Regions from separate parts of the Homo sapiens genome. Here region 1 is linked to region 2. Evidence: promoter capture Hi-C in human tissues and cell types (Jung and others, 2019). All regions are on one chromosome and are shown on one strand. Each heading gives the region's core, a stretch centred on a gene start or on the middle of the fragment in contact. The rest is flanking DNA. Distances are from core to core; before and after follow the strand shown. Region 1 holds the start of MYO15B (myosin XVB). Region 2 overlaps GRB2 (growth factor receptor bound protein 2).

Region 1 (2,500 bases), core at 1-2,500, 210 kb before region 2:
GGGTCCTCCGGCCCCGCTCCTGCTGCGGCTCCCGCTTCGCCCTCGCCTGCCGCCGCTGGCACCTGCCCCACCGCCTTTCCGACCTGGTGGCGCGGAGCCCGGGCCGTCGAGGCCTGCATTGTTTCTGGCTCGGCGCCCCGCTGCGCCCGGTTGTCGCTCGCGTCCTTGGCCGGCCCAGTGTCCCGAGGAGCCCGCGAGCTGTCCTCGAAGGTCCTGGAGGCCATAGCTGCCCGAGAGCCCCGTCCAGGTCCGGTCCCCAGCGGACTCGAGTCGGAGTCCCCGCCGGAATGCTCGCTGGCTCCCAGGGGCCCCGTCCCCGACGACCCTTCCCGGCCCCGGGTATCTGCGTGGGGCCAGTCGCTGTCCAGGCCGTCGCTGCTTGGCTCCAGCGCTGACTCCGGCCCGGTTTTTGTCCCTTCCGAGCCCATGTCCGTAGGCTCCGGCGTGGGCCGCAGCTCCCGGGCTGTGCCGCGCTGGCTGCCGCTCTCCTGGGCCTCGCGGGTTTCGCTGTCCGGACAGGAGCTGCCTCCGTCCCCACCCGACGTGTCCCCATTGAGGCTCCTGGGCGTCCGGCGGCCCCGCCGAGCCGAGGGCCCCTTATCTTTCCGCTTCCTCCTACGGCGGCCGCCCAGCTCTTCTCCTCCGGAGAGGCTTCCCTCCTCCAGGCGCCCCCCGCGGCCGCCCCTGGGCCCGCGTCCCTGACGCTGCGCGTTGCTTTGCCTCTCCTGGGCTTTCGGGGACAGCCCAGCCCCTGGGCGTCTGCAGCCGCCGTTCCCCTCTGCAGTGGGCTTCCTGCGGCCACCAGGGGTTCCCTGGCCCCCGGCGGTGGCAGGCTCGGCCGCCGGTTTCGCCCTGTCCGCCTGCCCGCGGTCGGAACGGCGTTCCCGGCTGGGCGCGCCATCCGCGCTGGCCGACCCCGACTCCTGCTCCCCTGAGGCCGGCCTCCCGGGCCTCTCCAGGCGCTGGGGCGCTTTGCGCTGGTTCCTGCCCATGGCTGGCCCAAAGGAGACGGGCTTCCCGACGCCCAGGTCCTTTCCCCTCCCCGGGGATTTGGCCTCCCGCGGTGACCTTCTGTGCAGTGCACCACCCGGCTCTGCTCTCGCAGGGGCTACAGGCTCTACTCCCCGAGGTGCCCGCCTTACAGGACCATCAATAATGCAGAAGGCGGCGGGTCCTGACCCCCTCGGCCAACAATGGAATAGAGGCGCCCAGGAAACAGGAGACGCTACAGCTGCGGACAGGGCAACAGTGCCGCCGGGAGGCGCTGCCAGCCAGGCCAGCCTCGCACCGCGCCAGACTGAGGGGGTCCATGCTCCACTCCCACCTCAGTGCTTGCCCAGCAAGGAAGGGCCCAGAGAACCTGTCTGGACTTCTTCCTTCTGAGGGTTCCAAGGGACTGGGGCCAGGCCCACCCTGGCACACGGCAGCACTCCATGAGTCGCTAGGGTTTTTGTTCTTTTCAATTGTGGAATAAATACAATTTACCGAAAAGTACATAAAACATAAATGTACATCTTGAACTGGTGTAAAACATGCCTGTCTACCTCCTTGGAGTTGTGGAACAGAACCACACCCCATACATTCCTGATTGCCCCAATGTGTGTGTTTTTAAAATATCTATTTTTAAAACAGGTAATACATTCACATAATTCAAACATCCAAACATTACAAGATAAAAGTCTCCCATTCCTGACCCTCAGCCTATGTACTCAGTGTTCCCCTGAGGTTACCCATTTCTGTATTTCCTTGCAAAATTTTCCAGGTTGGCCGGGCGCGGTGGCTCACGCCTGTAATCCCAGCACTCTGGGAGGCCAAGGAGGGCGGATCACGAGGTCAGGAGATGGAGACCATCCTGGCTAACATGGTGAAACCCCCGTCTCTACTAAAAAATACGATAAATTAGCCGGTCGTGGTGGGGGGCGCCTGTAGTCCCAGCTACTCGGGAGGCTGAGGCAAGAGAATGGCATGAACCCAGGAGGCAGGAGAGAATGGCATGAACCCAGGAGGCAGAGCTTGCAGTGAGCTGAGATCACACCACTGCACTCCAGCCTGGGTGACAGCATTTTGTTTGTCTCAAAAACAAAGAAACAACAACAAAAACTTTCCATGCAGAGAAAAGCAAATATTATATTTTTCCCCTTTAGCACAAGTGGTAGCTTATGTAGCTCCGGGGTCTCCACTTTGCCTTTTTCACTTAACAATGTAATCTGGTGATTTCATAATAATACCATAAAAAGCCAGCCTGCCTTCCTCCCTTCTCTCCTCCCTCTCTTCCTTGCAAATAAATGCACCATGGTTGAACCAATTCCTTATTGATGGGTTTCTACATCCAAAGTGGATCCTGGCCAAGTGAGGTGGCTCATGCCTGTAATCCCAGCATTTTGGGAGGCCGAAGTGGGTGGATCACCTGATGTCAGGAGTTCGAGATCTGCCTGGCCAACATGGTGAAACCCCATCTCTACTAAAAATACAAAAATTACCTAGGTGTGGTGGCACATGC
Region 2 (4,515 bases), core at 1,451-3,950:
AAGTATAATTAAAAGACAAAGATCTGAAATTAATAGTGGGTTTTTAGCTATCTATCATGCATTAAGAAATCAAGTGACCAGGTGTGGTGGCCTGTAATCCTAGCACTTTGGGAGGCTGAAGTGGGAGGACCACTTGAGCTCAGGAGTTCAAGACCAGCCTGGGCAACATAGCAAGACCCTGTCTCTACTAAAAATAAAAAAAATTAACCAGGTGTGGTGGTGCATGCCTGTAGTTCCAGCTACTTGGGACGCTAAGGTGGGAAGACTGCTTGAGCCCAGGAGGTGGAGACTACAATGAGCTATGTTTGCCCCACTGTACTCCAGCCTGGGTGACAGTGTGTGACCCTGTCTTTCTTTTTTTTTTTTTTAAGAAATCAAGTGTCTTCTTTATTTAATTCTTTTAAAATTTTTATTAGAATCATTTAATAGAAAAAGCATAAAATAAATTAGGTCATAATTCCCTCCTGATGCCCAGATAACAATTTTGAAATTAAATAAGCAAATAAATAAATGTCTCACTCATCATTAGAAAATTTATATGACAAACCTTCCCAAAGAAAATCACTATTCAGGTTTTCTATAACCTTTCAGAAAAAACGTTTAATGCATATAGCCATAGTTACTTTTATTGCAGTTCCTGGGTACCATAAAACATAACAATGAAACCATATTCAAAATTTTATAATGAAAGTAAGCAGGTACTTCATCTTTGGAGAGAAGAATGGCATTTCTGTTAAAGTGTACCTCTTTAGAAAGTGGCAGTAGCTCAGAGGATTTCTGTGCCAGGCTCTTAGAAAAGATACAATGATTAAGACTTTTCTCAAAATCATATTAAAGCTAATCAGAATAGATTGTGAACCGAAATTTGTGTGAATTTTCCAAAACATTGTGCTGAAGTAGTCCACGTCATATATCCCAGTGAATTTGTAACTAATGGCCTCATTTAATGCTAGAAGTGAGAACTGGTAGACCGTACAAGCCTTCCCTTAATTAATTGGTTCGTCTCCTTCTATACTTAGGTTACCAGTACAGAAGAACTAATACTGTAGTTGTTCGTAAACTTGGAGAAAGTCACACTGTATCTGCTCAGAGGCCTGTCCAATCTGCCATGTTTAAGCTTGTACTAGAACTACACCCACCTGAACAGTTGTTACCTTTAAAGTTCTTAGTAGTAATTTTCATATTTAGCTATGAGTTTGTTAGTGTTGTACGTTCATGTGTGAAATTTCTATATGTTTTTCTCTCACTTCATCCCTTCCCTGTTAGATATTAAAGGCCTGGCAAAAAGGACATGCCTCTCACCCGCATATCCTCAGGTGACCACATGAAAAATTATTCTTGTGTAACTTGCTTTTGGGTTTGGGTGTTTGTTTGTTTGTTTGTTTTTTGAGACAGTCTCACTCTGTTGCCCAGGCTGAAATGCGGTGGCGAGATCTCAGCTCACTACAACCTCCGCCCTCCTGTGATTCTCCTGCCTCAGCCTCCCAAGTAGCTAGGATTACAGCTGCCCACCACCACGCTCAGCTCATTTTTGTATTTTTAGTAGAGACGGTGTTTCACCATGTTGGTCAGGCTGGTCTCGAACTCCTGACTGCAGGTGATCCTCCCCCCCACCTCGGCCTCCCAAAGTGCTGGAATTACAGGCGTGAGCCACTGCACCTGGCCTGGGTTTGGGATTTATATTGTCAACTGAAACTAAGACTATTGAGGCAGAAATGATTTCATAAAGGTTTATTGGAAGGCCTGGCAAATGAGAATCGACCTGGGAAGACACACCAGCAGACTTGGGGGTTGTTCTGAAGTCTGTCACAAGGTGAAAGATGTTTTTGTTTTGCTGTTTGTTTCTTCGTGGGTTGTTTTCTTTTTTAGAGTCTTACTCTCTTGCCCAGGCTAGAGTGTAGTGTCATGATCTTGGCTCACTGCAACCTCTGCCTCCCGGGTTCAAGCAGTTCTACCACCTCAGCCTCCCTAGTAGCTGGGACTACAGGCGTGTGCCACCATACCCGGCTAATTTTTGTACTTTTAGTAGAGACAGGGTTTTGCCATGTTGGCCAGGCTGGTCTCTAACTCTTGACCTGAAGTGATCCACCTGCCTCAGCCTCCCAAAGTACTGGGATTACAGGCGTGAACTACCACACCCAGCCTTTTTTTTTTTTTTTTTTTTTTTTTTTCTGAGACAGGGTCTCGCTCTGTTGCCTGGGCTGGAGTGCAGCCTCAACTTCCTAGGCTCAAGCACTTCATCCACTTCAGCCTCCCGAGTAGCTGGGACAGCAGGTGAGCACCACCATGCCCAGCTAACTTTTTGTATTTTGTAGAAACAAGATCCCGCCATGTTGCCCAGGCTGATCTCGAACTCATGGCCTCAAGCAGTCCTCCTGCCTTGACCTCCCAAAGTGTTGGGATTACAGGCATGAACCACTCTGCCTGGCCACTTTTTGTTTGCAATAAACATGGGGTCTCATTCTGTCACCCCAGGCTGGAGTACGGTGGCCCCACCATAGTTCATTGCAGCCTCGAACTCCTGGGCTCAAGTGATCATCTCACCTCAGTCTCCTCAGTAGCTGGGACTACAGATGCGCACCACCACACCCTGTATTATATTTAAAAATGTAACTTTTAATATTTTTTTTTTGTAGCGGGGGGTCACTATGTTGCCCAGGCTGGTCTCGAGTGATCCTCCCATCTCAGCCTCCCAAGTAGCTCGGATTATAGATGTGAGTCACTGGGCCCAGCTATGAAGGTCTGTCTTTATGTTTTTGAGACAGGGTCTGGCTCTCTTACCCAGGCTGGAGTGCAGAGGTACAATCATGGCTCAGTACAGCCCCAACATTCCAGGCTCAGTTGATCCTCCCACCCTAGTCTCTGGAACTACAGGTATCCACCACCATGCCCAACTAGTTTTTGTTTGTTTGTTTGTTTTGTTTTGTTTTGTAGGGATGGAGTCTCATTATGTTGCCCAGGCTTGTCTCAAACTTCTGGGATTAAGGGATCCTCTCACCTTGGCCTCCCAAAGTGCTGGGATTACAGATTACAGGTGTAAGCCACCTTGCCTGGCCTGTGAAAGGTTTTTAGGAAAGTTTAAAAGAAGGAAGGGTACTCCTCCTCATACCAGAGTTGTCTTTTCATTGGATGGTACAATATGTAAGTTATAATCGTTGGTTACAAATTATGTTATACAGGCTAAAAATGTCTATGTGCAAGACAATCAGTAGAAGTTCATGCTTCACTAATCTTTTTTTTTTTTTTTTGAAACAGAGTCTCCCTCTGTTGCCCAGGCTGAAATGCAGCAGTGCAGTCTCAGCTCACTGCAGCCTCCACCTCCCGCATTCAAGAGATTTTCTTGCCTCAGCCTCCTGAGTAGCTGGGATTACAGGAGCATGCCACCAGGTCGGGTTAAAAAATTTTTTTTTTTTTTTTTTTTTTTGAGACAGAGTCTCTGTCTGTCACCCAGGCTGGAGTGCAGTGGCACAATCTCGGCTCACTGCAACGTCTGCCTCCCAGGTTCAAGCAATTCTCCTGCCTCAGCCTCCCAAGTAGCTGGGACTATATAGGCGCATGCCGACACGCCTGGCTGATTTCTTGTATTTCAATAGAGATGGGGTTTAACCGTGTTGCCTAGGCTGGTCTCAAACTCCTGAGCTCAGCCAATCCGCCTGCCTTGGCCTCCCAAAGTGCTGGGATTACAGGCGTGAGCCACTGCGCTCATGCAGGCCCCGGTAATTTTTTTTTTTTTTTTTTTTTTCTGAGACGGAGTCTTGCTCTGTCGCCCAGGCTGGAGTGCAGTGGCGCAATCTTGGCTCACTGCAACCTCTGCCTCCTGGGTTCACGCCATTCTCCTGCCTCAGCCTCCCGAGTAGCTGGGACTACAGGCGCCCACCACCACGCCCGGCTAAATTTTTGTATTTTTAGTAGATACAGGGTTTCACCGTGTTAGCCAGGATGGTCTCGATCTCCTGACCTCGTGATCCACCTGCCTCTGCCTCCCAAAGTGTTGGGATTACAGGCTTGAGCCACTGCGCCCGGCCAGTCCCCAGTACTTTTTGTATATTTGTAGAGACGAGGTTTCACCATATTTGCCAAGATGGTCTCAAACTCCTAGCCTCAGTTAATCTGCCTGCCTCGGCCTCCCAAAGTGTTGGGATTACAGGTGTGAGCCACTGTGCCCGGCTGATTTCTATTTTCATTGTAGTTGTAGAACATACTTTGTATGATTTTAATACTTTCAGATTTATTGGGGCTTGTTTTATGGCCTACCATCTGGTTTGTCCTGAGAATGTTCTCCTGTGCGCTTGAGATAGATTTTTATTCTGCTGTTGTTGGGTAGAGTCTTCTATAGATGTTGTTAGATCTATTGGTTAATTACTTTCTCTCTTTTTTTTTTCCTGAAGATTGTGTTCAAATGGATTTAACTACCATGAAATTCATCATAATTCATAATCAGCAATTACAGGAAAGAATAATGTGAGCTTTTGTGGATTTGTATCCAGTTGAGAACATGAAAGATCAGCCATAGAA

Evidence for each region. The method cuts DNA at HindIII sites, captures the fragments that hold promoters and counts their contacts. A contact is called where the count stands out against the background at its distance.
Region 1: a contact is called between the fragment with the promoter of MYO15B here and a fragment that was not itself captured in region 2, in 2 of the 25 tissues and cell types used here (mesenchymal stem cells and spleen).

What each region holds. Positions count from the first base shown.
Region 1 is chr17:75,586,550-75,589,049 of GRCh38, reverse strand. It overlaps MYO15B (myosin XVB), which reads right to left and starts at 1,250. Exons shown (of 64, transcript NM_001395058.1): 1 at 1-1,250. The coding sequence starts at 992. RefSeq lists a silencer at 19-148 and enhancers at 1-600, 1,029-1,098, 601-1,434. The HindIII fragment of the contact is 22,601 bases long and covers 1-2,500 here.
Region 2 is chr17:75,375,254-75,379,768 of GRCh38, reverse strand. The region is part of intron 2 of GRB2 (growth factor receptor bound protein 2); the gene reads left to right. Among named protein-coding and RNA genes, the nearest start is that of GRB2, 28 kb to the left of the region's middle. The HindIII fragment of the contact is 7,732 bases long and covers 1-4,515 here.